Regions from separate parts of the Homo sapiens genome. Here region 2 is linked to region 1. The links are contacts of gene promoters, found by promoter capture Hi-C in human tissues and cell types (Jung and others, 2019). All regions are on one chromosome and are shown on one strand. Each heading gives the region's core, a stretch centred on a gene start or on the middle of the fragment in contact. The rest is flanking DNA. Distances are from core to core; before and after follow the strand shown.

Region 1 (7,528 bases), core at 2,885-5,384:
TCCCAGGTTCAGCAATTTTCCCTGCCTCAGCCTCCCAAATAGCTGGGATTACAGGCGCCCGTCACCATGCCTGGCTAATTTTTGTATTTTTAGTAGAGACAGAGTTTCATCATGTTGGCCAGGCTGCTCTCGAATGCCTGACCTCAAGTGATCCACCCACCTTGGCCTACCAAAGTGTTGGGAATACAGGCGTGAGCCACAACGCCTGGCCAAGAGCAATTGTTATAATTGCTATCACCAATAATTTTTTCATATTTCTGTGGCCACACTTAAATGAGTCATCAAATGATTTGATATTGTGTGGATAATACTTAATATGAAAACTTTTAAAATATGTTGTCCCATCTCAGTTACTTAAACTTACCTTCCTACTATCCCAAAGGTTAGGCAGATGACAAATGCTGTTTTTCTTCTGTCTCTCTCTCTCTATATATATGTATATATGTATTCTGAGACAGGGTCTTACTCTGTTGCCTAGGCTGGAGTCCAGTAGCACAATCAACCTCCCAGGCTCAAGCGATCCTCCCATCTTAGTCTTCTGAGCAGCTGGGACTACAGGCATACGTCACCATGCCCAGCTAATTTTTTGTATGTTTTTGTAGAGATGGAGTTTTGCCATATTCCTCAGGCTGTTCTCCAACTCCTGGGCTTAGGGGATCCACTTGCCTTGGCCTCCCAAAGTCCTGGGATTATAGGCGTGAGCCACCATGCCCAGCTCTCCTCAATACTGTAGTGCTGATTACACCGAGAGTGTAAAAACCATTTGAAATACTTAATCATTGCTTTGAGGACACGAACAGTAACATAGCAACTTAGGGGTGGAACAAATTTTAGAGAAAGCATTGTTTACTTATTAGAAAATTATTTATGTTGATTTAACCTGATTTAACCAACTAGACTACTTTTTAAAATCTCTGGGGCCAGGCACGGTGGCTCAGGCCTGTAATCCCAGCACTTTGGGAGGCCAAGGCAGGTTGATCACCTGAAGTCATGAGTTCAAGACCAGCCTGGTCAACATGGTGAAACTCTGTCCCTAGTAAAAATACAAAAATTAGCTGGGCATGGTGACATGCGTCTGTAGTCCCAGCTACTCGGGAGGCTGAGGCAGGAGAATCACTTGAACCCGGGAGGCAGAGGTTGCAGTGAGCCGAGATCGCACCACTGCACTCCAGCCTGGCAACACAGCGACATTCCGTCTCAAAATAAATAAATAAATAAATAAATAAATAAATAAATCTCTGAACACACAGATATTGCTTAAATAGCTTGAACCCGGGAGGCAGAGGTTGCAGCAAGCCAAGGTCGCACCACTGCACTCTAGCCTGACGACAGAGCGAGATTCCGTCTCAAAAAAAAAAAAAAAAAAAAATCTCTGAACACACAGATACTGCTTAAATAGCACAAAGTTCAAAGAAACCTTGATTTAACCAAATCAAACCACTGTGCCAAGGTCAAAACAAATCAAGATCATTCAAAAGGAGCTGAATAAAAAGAGATAATTAAACTAATGCAGGTTTGAGATCAGGTATTTGCCTCTTTGAAGAGTGACCCTGATTTTGTCTGACCTCAGAAAGGTTGTTTCTCTCTGAGCTCTATTTCCTCTTCAAAACATTGAGAGGCTTGTGTCTGTGCAATTTTAAAGTGTTTTTGGATCTATAACTTGGGATTTTGTTATAGTGGCTCCAAACTGTAAACAATTTGACCAAAAGTATCATCTTCATCTTAAGATTTTAACTGGGCGTGGTGGCTCAAACCTGTAATCTCATTTTGGAAGGATGAGGCAGGAGGATCTCTTGCAAGACCTTCTCTTTACAAAAACAAACAAACAAACAAACAAACAAATAAAAACCTAGCCAGGCATAATGGCACACACCTGTAGTTCCAGCTACTCAGGAGGCTGAGGCTGGAGGACTGCTTGAGCCCAGGAGGTTGAGGCAGCAATGAGCTGTGACTGCACCACTGCACTCCAGCCTGGACAACAGACTGTCTCAAAAAAAAAAAAAAAGTTATTGTACTTGGATCTTGTACAAAGGAATTGAATTGTTAAATGCTACTTACAGCAAATATTTATTTATTTTTATTTTTTATTTTTTGAGACAGTCTTGCTGTGTCAGCCAGGCTGGAGTGCAGTGGCACAATCTTGGCTCACAGCAACCTCCGTCTCCTGGGTTCAAGCAATTCTCCTGCCTCATCCTCCTGAGTAGCTGGGATTACAGGCATGTGCCACCACACCTGGCTAATTTTTGTATTTTCAGTAGAGACAGAGTTTCACCATGTTGGCCAGGCTGGTTTTGAACTCCTGACCTCAGGTAATCCGCCCGCCTTGGCCTCCCAAAGTGCTGGGATTACAGTTGTAAGCTACCACGCCCGAGCAAATACATTTTTAGTAAAGTTCTGAGGCAAATGATGAAAACAGGGTTAGTATAAAATTTAGTATTTAGTTATTTGAATTTTTACTGACCTTTTTTAGGCCTGACACAGTGGTTTATTCTTTTTCTTTTCTTAGAGACAAGATCTCACTCTGTCATGCAGGCTGGAGTGCAGTGGTGAGATCACAGCTCACTGTAGCCTCGAACTCCTGGGTTCAGGTGATCCTCCCACATCAGCCTCCTGAGTAGCTGGGACTACAGGGATGTGCCACCACACTGGCCACTTTTTAAAAATTTATTTAATTAAAAACATTGGCTGGGCATGGTGGCTTACGCCTGTAATCCCAGCACTTTGGGAGGCTGAGGCGGGTGGATCAACTGAGGTCAGGTGTTCAAGACCAGCCTGGCCAACATGGTGAAACCCTGTCTCTACTAAAAATACAAAAATTAGCCAGGCATGGTGGCAGGAGCCTGTAATCCCAGCTACTCGGGAGACTGAGGCAGGAGAATTGCTTGAACCCAGGAGGCGGAGGTTGCAGTGAGCGGAGATGGCACCACTGCACTCCAGCCTGGGCAACAGACCAAGACTCTGTCTCAAAAATATATATATATATATATTTTTTAAATAGAGATAAGGGGACTCTCCCTGTTGTCCAGACTGGTCTCAAACTCCTGGCCTCAAGTAATCCTTCTGTCTCAGCCTCCCAAAGTGCTTGGATTACAGGAGTGAGCCACCTTGCCCAGCCCGACACAGTGGTTTAGATCTGGCTTTTTTTTGTATGTAATATAACACTTCATAGCAGGCATTTGGTATTAAATGAATTAGGTAAGATGTACTTCACACTGAGGTTTCGAAACCGCGTGGCATGACATTTTAATCCACAGTACAAATCTGTAAAGGAGGGCTTTATCGTCAGCACAGAGCAGGAAAAACCTAAATAGAATGAAGGCAGCTAAGATGATTACTCAATCATTAATTAACTATGTTGTCCAATCACCGCAGTTTCGACCTCCCTTTGGCTTCAAAAGTCAAAAAAGTCAACTTGCAAAAAAAAAAAAAGTCTACTTGCTCTGAAAGGAAGTTTGAGTTCTTTACCTTACTGTAAACTCTTAGAAGAGGAAACAAAACTGCCATTTAAATGTGCTAATGAACTTGAGCGTGACTATGCTGTGAATCAGCGAGTTTCAAAATTAAAATTCCTCTGAGTCCTCCAGTCAAAGACAAAGGCCTCCTTCTTGGCTTGATCACACTATTAACATGTACACATATTTAACCACCTCTTTTTAAAACCCCTTATAATTTACATCTGAAACACGAAGACGAAATGTGAATGAAATACTGCGATGAACATTAACCGCCCCAGCTCCCAGTGGTGGTACGGTCTCAACAGAGGACGATGACTTCTATGGTCTCAGGTAATCTTCACAAAACCCGAGGAGAGGAACTGTCAGTCCCACCCCACGAAAGCGGCTACTGAATCTCAGATTGCCCCACGATCCTGGCTCTGCGAGCGAGGTCACGTTCACAACGGCGGGAATTTCCGTAGCGGTGACACACGGCACTTCCGGCCGGCCGTGAGAGTCGGTGACGTGGCGGCGAGGCCGGGCACGGTCGTCGGGGTCGGGGCACCAGGAGCTGTCAGGTGGCCTCGGGGCAGCCCGGCTGGCAGAGAAGAGTTCGCCGGCGCGGCGGCGGCTGCTGCGAGCCCGGAGCCGGAAGTGCCACGTGTCCTGATTGCGGCTGCGCGGCCGGCGGCTGACAGGCACTTCCGGCCAGGGCCTCCCTCCTTCTCTCTAGGTTTGGCTGCCGCCTTCTAGCCGGGCGTTCGCGGCCCCGCCGGCCCGACTCTCAAGCCTCAGCTCCCAGGCTAGGCTGTGGCCGCCGGTGGCCTGGGGAGAGTGCGGCGCCATGCCTCGGGCTTAATGCGCCCCCCCCTCTTCTCCCAGTCTTCAGTCTTAAGTCGTTAGCCTCCTCCCTCCGCTTTCAGCAGTGGTCTTTCAGCTCTCTTCTTGTGCGCTGTTGTCGACCCCGACCAGCCCCTTCCAACCCAGTCATCATGTCCCAGCCGGGAATACCGGCCTCCGGCGGCGCCCCAGCCAGCCTCCAGGCCCAGAACGGAGCCGCCTTGGCCTCGGGGTCTCCCTACACCAACGGTGAGTGCTGTCCGGGGGGAGGGCGCAGCCTGGCCAGGGCTGACTGACCTTTGCGTGCCACTGCTGCTTGAGGCGACATAGATAGAGAGAGTGACCTCCTTACCGGGTTCTGGCGCGGATGGTGGTGGGCGGCTGGGCCAGGGGACCACGGCAGTTGTGCACCTGTAGCCCCAGGCTCGTCTCAGTCTTTCACATTTATTTAGTCGGTCACCAAAACAGTAAATGAGCACCTGCTGTATGCAACGCCCTGGGTGAAACACGGGTGAGAAAATGCCTCAAAACTCGAATATAAGGATCATAGTGTTTGTGTGCCTTCGCCTTCCTTGCCACCTCACCCCAGTCTCCTAGAGAGCAGGATGTGGGGTCTGATTCTTCTGGGTTCCGCAGGCCCTGAAGTGGGGTGGGGGTCGTACTCAGTCTGAGTTTCTGGAGATGAATGCATGCTTTTGGGACACCCCTTTAGGGCCTACTCATCTCTCCCAGAACCTTCCCAGAATTGTACCTACAACAGCTGTTCAATGTTTCAGCTGTGGAAAAACCAAATAGAAGGGAGGATCTCCTGGTTGACTTCTAGATGTCTGGACAGCATTTGGAAAGTGGGTGGACACAACTCTCTGAATCTCTGACAAGAGTCTACATGTACATTATAGTTTGTCATTTGATGTGAGAATGTCTTATAATTTTATACCTCTTCTAGGATTCCTTAAATCGTCCTACATTGTGATTTGCTAAGATTATTTCAGTTGTTACAATAGACAAAGACTTTCTGCCGACAGATTGCCTACTTACCAATTTACTTACAAATCTTTGGTTTACAGAAATAAGACTAGTAGAATAATGCTAAAGAACTTAAGTTGCCCATTAGAGTCTAAGAGTTCTGTGAAGTTGGAGAATACAGACAGTGACTAAAATCTCTAATTTACATTGTTTTTAGAGAAGACCGCTGTTTTCTTTACAAAGATGGCTCTAAAAGACTTTTAAAAATGTCTGTGAGTAGGCAACTATGTGGGCAGAAGAAAGAATAAGTGGAGGAAAGCCACTGAAAGGGTACTGAGTTAACCATTCTTTCTCAAAATTATGGTAACAGATTATGTACACTACATTTTATTCTAGAATATTTAGTAACATTTACACTGAGGATGAGAAAAAATGTTACATGGCTATGGATTTTTCTTATAATCTATAAATTGCAGTTTTACATTAACTTTAAATGACAAATCCTCAAATGTGCTTCAACATTTATATATGAGTGTAGTTGTCATAATATTGAAATGTTAAAGGGATTTGACCACTGTGGTATGCTGTATTAGAGATACTGTCACTATGTTGATTTGATACAGTCCAACAGACATTTGTTCCACATCTTTTTTTTTTTTTTTGAGATGGAGTCTTGTTCTGTTGCCCAGGCTGGAGTGCAGTGGTGGTGATCTTGGCTCACTGCAACCTCTGATTCCTGGGTTCAAGCGATTCTCCTGCCTCCTTAACCTTCCAAAGTGCTGTAATTACAGGCCTGATCCACGGTACCCAGACCTCTTTTTTAAAATATAATTTTCATAGTCTTTTTATAAGTTCCATTTCTACAGGGTTTTTTGTTTGTTTGTTTGTTTGTTTGTTTTTTGAGACGGAGTTTTGCTTTTGTCTCCCAGGCTGGAGTGCAATGGCGCTATCTCGGCTCACTGCAACCTCCTCCTCCCAGGTTCAAGCAATTCTCCTGCCTCAGCCTCTGAAGTAGCTGGGATTACAGGCACGTGTCACCACACCCAGCTAATTTTTATATTTTTAGTAGAGACGGGGTTTCACCATGCTGGTCAGGCTGATGTCAAACTCCTGACCTCTAGTGATCCACCCACCTTGGTCTCCCAAAGTGCTGGGATTACAGGCATGAGCCACTGTGCCTGGCCTCTACAGGTTTTTTGTATTTTGCCTTTTTTTTTTTTTTGAGACAGGATCTTACTTAAACTGTCCCTCAAGCTGGAGTGCAGTGGCAGGATCACAACTCACTGTCACTCCTGGGCTCAAGCAATCCTCACACCTCAGCCTCCCCAGTAGCTAGAACTACAGGTGCATACCACCAGGCCCCATTTTTTATATAAGTATATAATATATATATATAATGTATATATTTTATTATTATTTTTTGAGTCAGAGTTTCACTCTGTTGCCCAGGCTGGAGTACAATGGCTCGATCTCGGCTCACTGCAACCTCCATGTCTCAGGTTCAAGTGATTCTCGTGCCTCAGCCTCCCGAGTAGCTGGGATTACAGGCCTGTGCCACCACAACCGGCTAATTTTTGTATTTTTAGTAGAGATGGGGTTTCACCATGTTGGCCAGGCTGGTCTTGAACTCCAAACCTCATAATGATCCGCCCACCCTGGCATCCCAAAGTGCTGGGATTACAGGCATGAGCCACCACGCCCGGCCTAATGTAAAGATATATGTATATTATATATATAATGTTTTATATATATTTTGTAGAGATGAGTCTCTCTATGTTGCCTAGGCTGGTCTGAAATTCCTGACCTCAAGTGATCCTCCTGACTCAGCCTTCCAAAGTGCTGGGATTAGAGGCATGAGCTACCAAGCCTAGCCTGGGTTGTTTTATTGTTCATCCTGCTAATAATACAGAGAGTAGGGATATGGTATCAAGTTGGAGAACAGGATATTTTTCAAGAAGGTGAGAAAACGTTTCAATGCTGGGATCTAGTTTTGCTTAACTATTCCAAAGCAGTAGTTGATGCTTGCATATTCTGTTGAAAACTCTTTTTTTTTTTTTTTTTGATGGAGTTTCACTTTTGTTGCCCAGGCTAGAGTGCAATGGCTCATTGCAACCTCTGCCTCCCAGATTCAAGCAATTCTCCTGCCTCAGCCTCCTGAGCAACTGGGATTACAGGTGCATGCCACCACACCCGGCTAATTTTTGTATTTTTAGTAGAGACAGGGTTTCATCACATTGGTCAGGCTGGTCTCAAACTCCTGACCTCAGGTGATCCGCCCGCGTCGGCCT
Region 2 (7,528 bases), core at 2,944-5,443, 300 kb before region 1:
AGAAAAAGAAAAAGAAAATCCTTTGAGACTAATGAAAATGAAGACACAACATACCAGCATTTGTGGGATGCAGTAAAGCAGAGAGGGAAATGTATAGCTGTAATGCCTATATGAAGAAAGATATCAAATCAGTAACCTAACCTTCCACCTTAAGACACTGGAAAAAGAAGGGCAAACTAAACCAAGCAAACAAAAAGAAGGAAATATTTAAAAAGCAAAAGTTCATTAAATAGAGAATAAGAAAACAGAGAAAATCAATGAAACCAAAAGCTATTTTTTTGTAAATCAACAAAATTGAAAAACATTTAGTTAGAATGACCAAGAGCAAAAGAGAGAAAACTCAAAGTATTAGAATCAGAAATGAAAGAGGTGACATTACTACTGACTTTACAGAAATTAAAAAGATTATAAAGGAATACATAATTGTTTGCCAACAGATTAGATAACTTAGATTAAATGAATAGCTTCCCAGAAAAACACAAACTACTGAAACTGGCTCAATAAAAAATAGACAATCTCAATAAACTTTTAACAAGTGAAAAGACTGAATTCATGATTTTTTTAAAAAACTACCCGCAAAGAAAAGCCCAGGCCTAGATGATGTCACTACTGAATTCTATCATTTAAAGAAGAATTAATACCAAGTCTTCACAAACTCTTTCAAAAAACAGAAGGAACACATCCCATCTCATTTTTTAAAACCAGTATTTCCCTGATACCCAAACCAGTAAAAAAGAAAACTACAAATATCTTTTATGAATGTGAACACAAAATTCTCAACAAAATACTAGCAAACTGAATCCAGCATCATATAAAAGGAATTATGCACTGTGACCAACTGGGATTTATTCTAGGAACACAAGGTTGGTTCAATATCCAAAAACCAATAAATGTAATATAATACATCAATAGAATAAAAACCAAAAAAATTTCTCATTTTGATCATTTCAATAGACAAAGAAAAAACATTTGATAAAATCCAACACCCCTTCATGATAAAAGCACTCAACAAACTAAGAATAAAAGGAAACTTCCCCAACCTGATAAAAGGCATCTATGAAAAATCATCTAATATCATACTTAGACTGAATGATTTCCCGATAAGATTAGGAACAAGACAAGGATGTCTGCTCTTGCCACTTCTGTTCAACATTGTACTGCAGATTCTACTCAGCACAATTAGACAGGAAAAAGAAATAAAAGGCATCCAGACCAGCAAAAAGGTAAAACTATATCTATTCACAGATGACATGATCTTCTATGTAGAAAATCCTAAAGAATCCACTAAACTACTATGAGAACCAATAAACAAGTTCAGCAAAGTTGCATGATAATGATATGAGTTAAGAAGAAATTATTTAGGCAGGCAGTGAGGGTACGGGATCCTCAGTAAGGTTTTCCTTTTAATGAAAAGCAGCCCCAAATCATTTTCTTTTCTAACAAAAAGCAGCCTGTAAAATTGTGCTGCAGACACAGACACGCAAGCTGTAAGCTTGCACAGGTGAATGCCAGCAGTTGTGCCAACAGGAAAAGGCTACCTGGGACTAAGCATGTTCAAAATGGTGGCTCCATCTTCCCTTCTCTTTGCCAAACCACATGTAGAGTAAGAAGACAATATGGCCCCAGCCAGGCAAAGATCCAATTTGCATAATAAGATTAGAGTGGGGCAACCAGCCTTCCCCTTGCAGTATGTAACTGTCACACCTGGTCGAACCAATCTGTGGGCCCTACATAAATCAGACACCATCTCCTCAAACCTGCCTATAAAATCTAATGCAGTCTGCTGCGGGCCAGATTTTGCTTTAGGAGGCCCCTCTTTCTCACTAGGGAGAAAGCTGTTCTCCTTTCTCTTTCTTTTGCCTATTAAACCTCTGCTCCTAAACTCACTCCTCATGCATGTCCATGTCCTTCATCTCCTTGGCACGAGATGACGAACCCTGGGTATTTACTCCAGACAATGACACCACTTCAATATGAACTCAATATACAAAAATAAGTTGTATTTTTATGCCCGTGCAATGAACAATTTGAAATCAAATTAAGAAAACTCCATTCATGATAGCATCAAAAAGAATAAGATACTTAAGAATAAATTTTACAAAACAAGTGCAAAATGTATGCTTTGAAAACTACAAAACATTGTTGAAAAAATTATGGAAGCCGGGTGCGGTGGCTCACGCCTGTAATCCCAGCACTTTGGGAGGCCGAGGCAGGTGGATCATGAGGTCAGAAGATCGAGACCATCCTGGCTAACACGGTGAAACCCCATCTCTACTAAAAAAATACAAAAAATTAGCCAGACGTAGTGGCGGACGCTTGTAGTCCCAGCTACTCGGGAGGCTGAGGCAGGAGAATGGCGTGAACCTGGGAGGCGGAGCTTGCAGTGAGCCGAGATTGTGCCACTGCACTCCAGCCTGGGCGACAGAGCAAGACTCTGTCTCAAAAAAAAAAAAGAAAAAGAAAAAGAAAAATTTATGGAAGATCTAAATAAATGGCAAAACATTCTAAATTCACAGATTAGAATAAGAGTTAACATTTTTAAGACAGCAATAACCTCCAAACTAATCCACAGATACAATGTAATCCATATCAGAATCTCAGATGTCTGTTTTGCAAAAATTGAGAAGCTGATCTTAAAATTCATATGGAATTGGAAGGGACCTAGAATAGCCAAAACAATCTTGGAAAAGTAAATAAAGTAGAAAGACTCACACTTTCTGATTTCAAACTTGCTACAAAGCAATAGTCATTAAGACAGTGTGTCGGCTGCGTGCGGTGGCTCCTGCCCGTAATCCCAATGCTTTGGGAGTCCAAGGCAGGCAGATTGCTTGAGCCCAGCCATTCAAGACCAGCCGGGCCAACGTGGTGAAATCCCGTCTCTACAAAAAATTTAAAAATTAGCCAGGCTTGGTGGTGCACCCCTGTAGTCCCAACTACTCAGGAGGCTGAGGTGGGAGGATTGTTTGAGCCTGGAAGGTGGAGGTTGCTGTGGGCCAAGATCATGCCACTGCACTCCAGCCTGGGCAACAGAGTGAGATCTTGTCAAAAAAAAAAAAAAGGAAAGAAAGTGCGTTGCTGGAAAAAGGACAGCCTTACAGATCAATGGAACAGAATTGAGATTCTAGAAATAAGCCCTTATGAAACCACCTTTGCAAAATTATGACTGAGACAGTGAAGGAGATCTAACTTAATTGACTCCATCTTGCTTCTAACCTCCAAGCTGTCCTCGTTCATTCCTGGGCGTAGGCTGGACTAACTTCAGGAGAAACTTCGTTTATAGTTTATAGTTTAACACAAAGACAGTAACAACCCTTTCCCAAAGCAGACTTCCTTCTTGCCTGGGGACCAGATTGCCTTTGTAGGACTAACATTAGCCACAAGATTAGAAATTATGGTTTAGGAGTCATGTAGCTGAAGGCTACAAGATTCTGACCCTCCATAAACTGCTCCTAAGATCAGTGCTTGAGATATTTTGCAAACCCTGTACTTGATGGATCAGCTGGCACCACCCATATTGCTAAACTGGCTTATCTGATCTCATGGCCGCCCCAGACCCAGGAAGTGATTCAGTGCAAGAAGACAGCTTCCACTCCCTATGATTTCAAACCTGATCAATCAGAACTCCCAGCTCACTGGCCTCCCTCTACCCACCAAGTTGTCCTTAAAAACTCTGCTCCCTGAATGCCCAAGGAGACTGATTTGAGTAATAATAAAACTCCAGTCTCCTGCACACTCACGCCGGCTCTGCGTGAGTTATTCTATCTCTATTGCAATTCCCGTCTTGATGAATCGGCTCTGTCTAGGCAGCGGGCAAGGTGAACCCCTTGAGCAGTTACACTTACATCTATAGTCAACTGAATTTCAAAAAGAGCCCAACACCATAATGGGGAAAGAACAATATTTTCATCAAATGGTGCTGGGACAACAACTGGATAGCCAAATGCAAAAGAATGAACTTGGACTCTTACCTTATAGCATATACAAAAATTAACTCAAATGGATCAGACTTGAATGTAAGAGCTAAAGTTATAACTCTTAGAAGAAAATGTAACTGTAAATCTTCATAACCCTGGATTTGGCAAACAATTTTGAAATATGATACCAAAAGCATAGGCAACAAAAGAAACAGATAAATTGGACTTCTTAAAATTAAAAACATTTGAAAATCAAAAGACAGAATCAAGAAAGTGAAGACACAACCCATAAAATGGAAGAACATACTTGTAAATCACATATCTGATAAGGAATTTGTATCTAGGATATGCAGAAAATTCTTACAACTCAATAATAAAAAGACAACTCATTTTAAAAATAGGCAAAGGATCTGAACAGACATTTCTCCAAGGACAATATACAAATGGCCAATAAGCACACGCACACACAAAAAGACATTCAACCTCAGTAGACATTAGGGAAATGTGAATCAAACCCACAATGAGATACCACTTCACACCCATTAGAGTAGCTAGAATAAAAAAGTCAGGCTTCAGCGTGGTGGCTCACACCTATCATCCTAACACATTGGTAGGCTGAGGCGGGAGGATCACTTAAGCCCAGGAATTCAAAATCAGCCTAGTCAAAATAGCGAGACCCTGTCTCTACAAAATAAAAAAGCCAGCCATAGGCTGGGTGCAGTGGCTCACATCTGTAATCTCAGCACTTTGGGAGGCCGAGGCAGGTCGATCACGAGGTCAGGAGTTCGAGACCAGCCTGACCAACATGGTGAATCCCCAGCTCTACAAAAATACAAAAAAAAATTAGCCGGGTGTGGTGCCATGCGCCTGTAGTCCCAGCTACTCAGGAGGCTGAGGCAGGAGAATTGCTTGAACCCAGGAGGCGGATGTTGCAGTGAGCCGAGATCACGCCACTGCACTCCAGCCTGGGCGACAGAGAGAGACTCTGTCTCAAAAAAAATAAAATAAATAAAAATCTATAAAGATAGAGAAGAGAGTAGTGATTGCTTAGGGTTAGGGAGGGAGTTCAGAGGTATAGGGGTGTCATAGATAAAGGGTATGGGGTTTTTACTGAGGTGATGAAAACTGACTGGTGATGGTAGTACATATCTGTGAATACACTAAAAACCACTGAAATTTACTTCAGATGGATGAACTGTATTATATAAAAATATCTCAATAATGCTGTTTTTAATAAAGACATAATATGGCTGATACCAGGTCTGGGGCAACAACATGTGAAAAATGAGCCTGGACTGCTATCTTGTCAGTCAGGTCACAAGGAAAGTATCAGAGACTACATACTAGGTCCTGTTAAAAGGACTTGGGAAGCCACCTTGAAAAGGCACCTTTCACTCGTGTCCGTGTGAAGAGACCACCAAACATGCTTTGTGTGAGCAACAAGGCTGTTTATTTCACCTAGGTGCAGGCGGGCTGAGTCCGAAAAGAGAGTCAGCAAAGGGAGATGGGGTGGGGCTGTTTTATGTGATTTGGGTAGGTAGTGGAAAATTACAGTCAAAGGGGGTTGTTCTTTGGCAGGCAGGGGCAGGGGACACAAGATGCTCAGTGGGGGAGCTTTTGAGCCTGGATGAGCCAGGAGAAGGAATTTCACAAGGTAATGTCATCAGTTAAGGCAGGAACAGGCCATTTTCACTTCTTTTGTGATTCTTCAATTACTTCAGGCCATCTGGATGTATCCGTGCAGGTCACAGGGGATATGATGGCTTAGGTTGGGCTCAGAGGCCTGACAGCACCCACTGATTTTGAACTTCAGTAATAATAACAATTGTGTCCAGGCTTAGACTATGATACCTGAAAGTATGGTGCTTTGGCATGATACATACTTTGAACTGAAGGAGATTAGAAGGGTCTCAGAAACAAAATCTCTCTGACCTTCTCCTGCTCTCCTTTCTCCCCCAAGGTGTATCACAGAAACCAGGATTCCTCTTCCGCCTGCCCACCTCCAGAGCGATTAGAATTCCTCTTCCCCAAAGCAAGCCATAAAACATAGAATGGTCACTCTCTGATCCACCTCCCTTGAAAGTAAGTCATAAGACCTTCATTCCAGAGAGGTCCTGCCCATACCTGGAAGGAAGGAATGCAAAACAGAGAGGCCAGGAAGAATCTGAACAAACAGGCCTTGCTGGGTTTATTACCATTAGATCATACTCCTTTTGCCCAATCATGTTTCTCTACACCTATCCACTCCTTTCAGCAAACAGCATAAAATCAGACAGTGTTCTCCCTGGGTCTTTGGGTTTTCATTTATGAAGGCTTCCATGTCACATTGAACTTTGTTAAATTTGTCACGCTTTTCTCTTGCTAACCTATCTTTTGTTATAAGGGTATTGGCTGTGACTCTTGTTACAGGTAGGGAAAAGGTATTACCTTTTTTTGTTTTTGAGACGGAGTTTCGCTCTTGTTGCCCAGGCTGAGGTGCTGCGGTGCGATCTCGGCTCACCGCAACCTCTGCCTCCCGGGTTCAAGCGTTTTTCCTGCCTCAGTCTCTCGAGTAGCTGGGATTACAGGCATGCACCACCACGCCTGGCTATTTTTGTATTTTTAGTAGAGACGGGGTTTCTCCATGTTGGTCAGGCTGGTCTTGAACTGCTGACCTCAGGTGATCCGCCCACCTCGGCCTCCCAAAGTGCTGGGATTACAGGCATGAGCCACCGTGCCCAGCCGGGAAAAGGTATTATCTTTTTGCCCCGATAATTGCAATGCATTGAAACCCATTAAATATGTTTAAGTCCATGAGTTCATAATGATATTTCTAAAAAAATTAATTAGTTGCTTTTGGAGGTCACCTGTTGGAGCCAATTCATCTTTAAAATTGATAAACAAATCAAGCATTTACCCAGTTTCTCTATGTGAACTATACCATTAGGTAACCAAATAAGGGGAAATGTCCATTTATAAAAGTATTCAAGTAATAAATTAAAAAGAGATGATAAAGTTAAACCTCCATAGTAATGAAATATGATAATATTAGGGTAAACAGAAACTGGGTGAGGACTATGGGGAAACTCTCTATACTATCTTTGTAACTTTTCTGTAAATCTAAAATTATCCCAAAATAAAGTTTACTTTAAAAAAAAAAAAGGCTAGGATGGCTATTAAACAAAAGAACATAATGGTAAGTGCTAGCAAAGACATGGAGACACTGAAACTCTCACACTCAGCTAGTGGGAATGTAAAATGGTACAAACACTTTGGAATACAGTCTGGCAGTTCTTCAAAGACTAAACATAGAGTTACTGTATGACCCACAATTCTAACTCCTAAGTATATACCCAAAAGAAATGAAAACATATGTCCATACAAAAACAAGTTACACGGACACCCATAGCAGCATTACCCATAATAGCTAAAAAGTAAAAATAACCCAGATGTCCATCAGTTGATGAATGGGTAAATAAAAAGAGCTCTATCCATTCAGTGGAATATTATTCAGCCATAAAAAGGAATAAAGTGCTGGCTGGGCACGGTGGCTCATGCCTGTAATCCCAGCATTTTGAGAGGCCGAGGCGAGCAGATCACTTGAGGTAGGGAGTTCAAGACCAAATGGCAAAACC

Evidence for each region. Contacts are between HindIII fragments. The study calls those that stand out against the background at their distance.
Region 2: a fragment that was not itself captured here is called in contact with the fragment with the promoter of SEC24A in region 1 in 1 of the 25 tissues and cell types used here (mesenchymal stem cells).

The regions. Positions count from the first base shown.
Region 1 is chr5:134,644,651-134,652,178 of GRCh38, forward strand. It overlaps SEC24A (SEC24 homolog A, COPII component), which reads left to right and starts at 4,135. Exons shown (of 23, transcript NM_021982.3): 1 at 4,135-4,523. The coding sequence starts at 4,427. RefSeq lists enhancers at 3,676-3,735, 3,746-4,035, 3,783-4,320. The HindIII fragment of the contact is 35,050 bases long and covers 1-7,528 here.
Region 2 is chr5:134,340,159-134,347,686 of GRCh38, forward strand. The region is part of intron 4 of CDKL3 (cyclin dependent kinase like 3); the gene reads right to left. Among named protein-coding and RNA genes, the nearest start is that of CDKL3, 23 kb to the right of the region's middle. RefSeq lists enhancers at 4,897-5,595, 5,596-6,295. The HindIII fragment of the contact is 9,284 bases long and covers 1-7,528 here.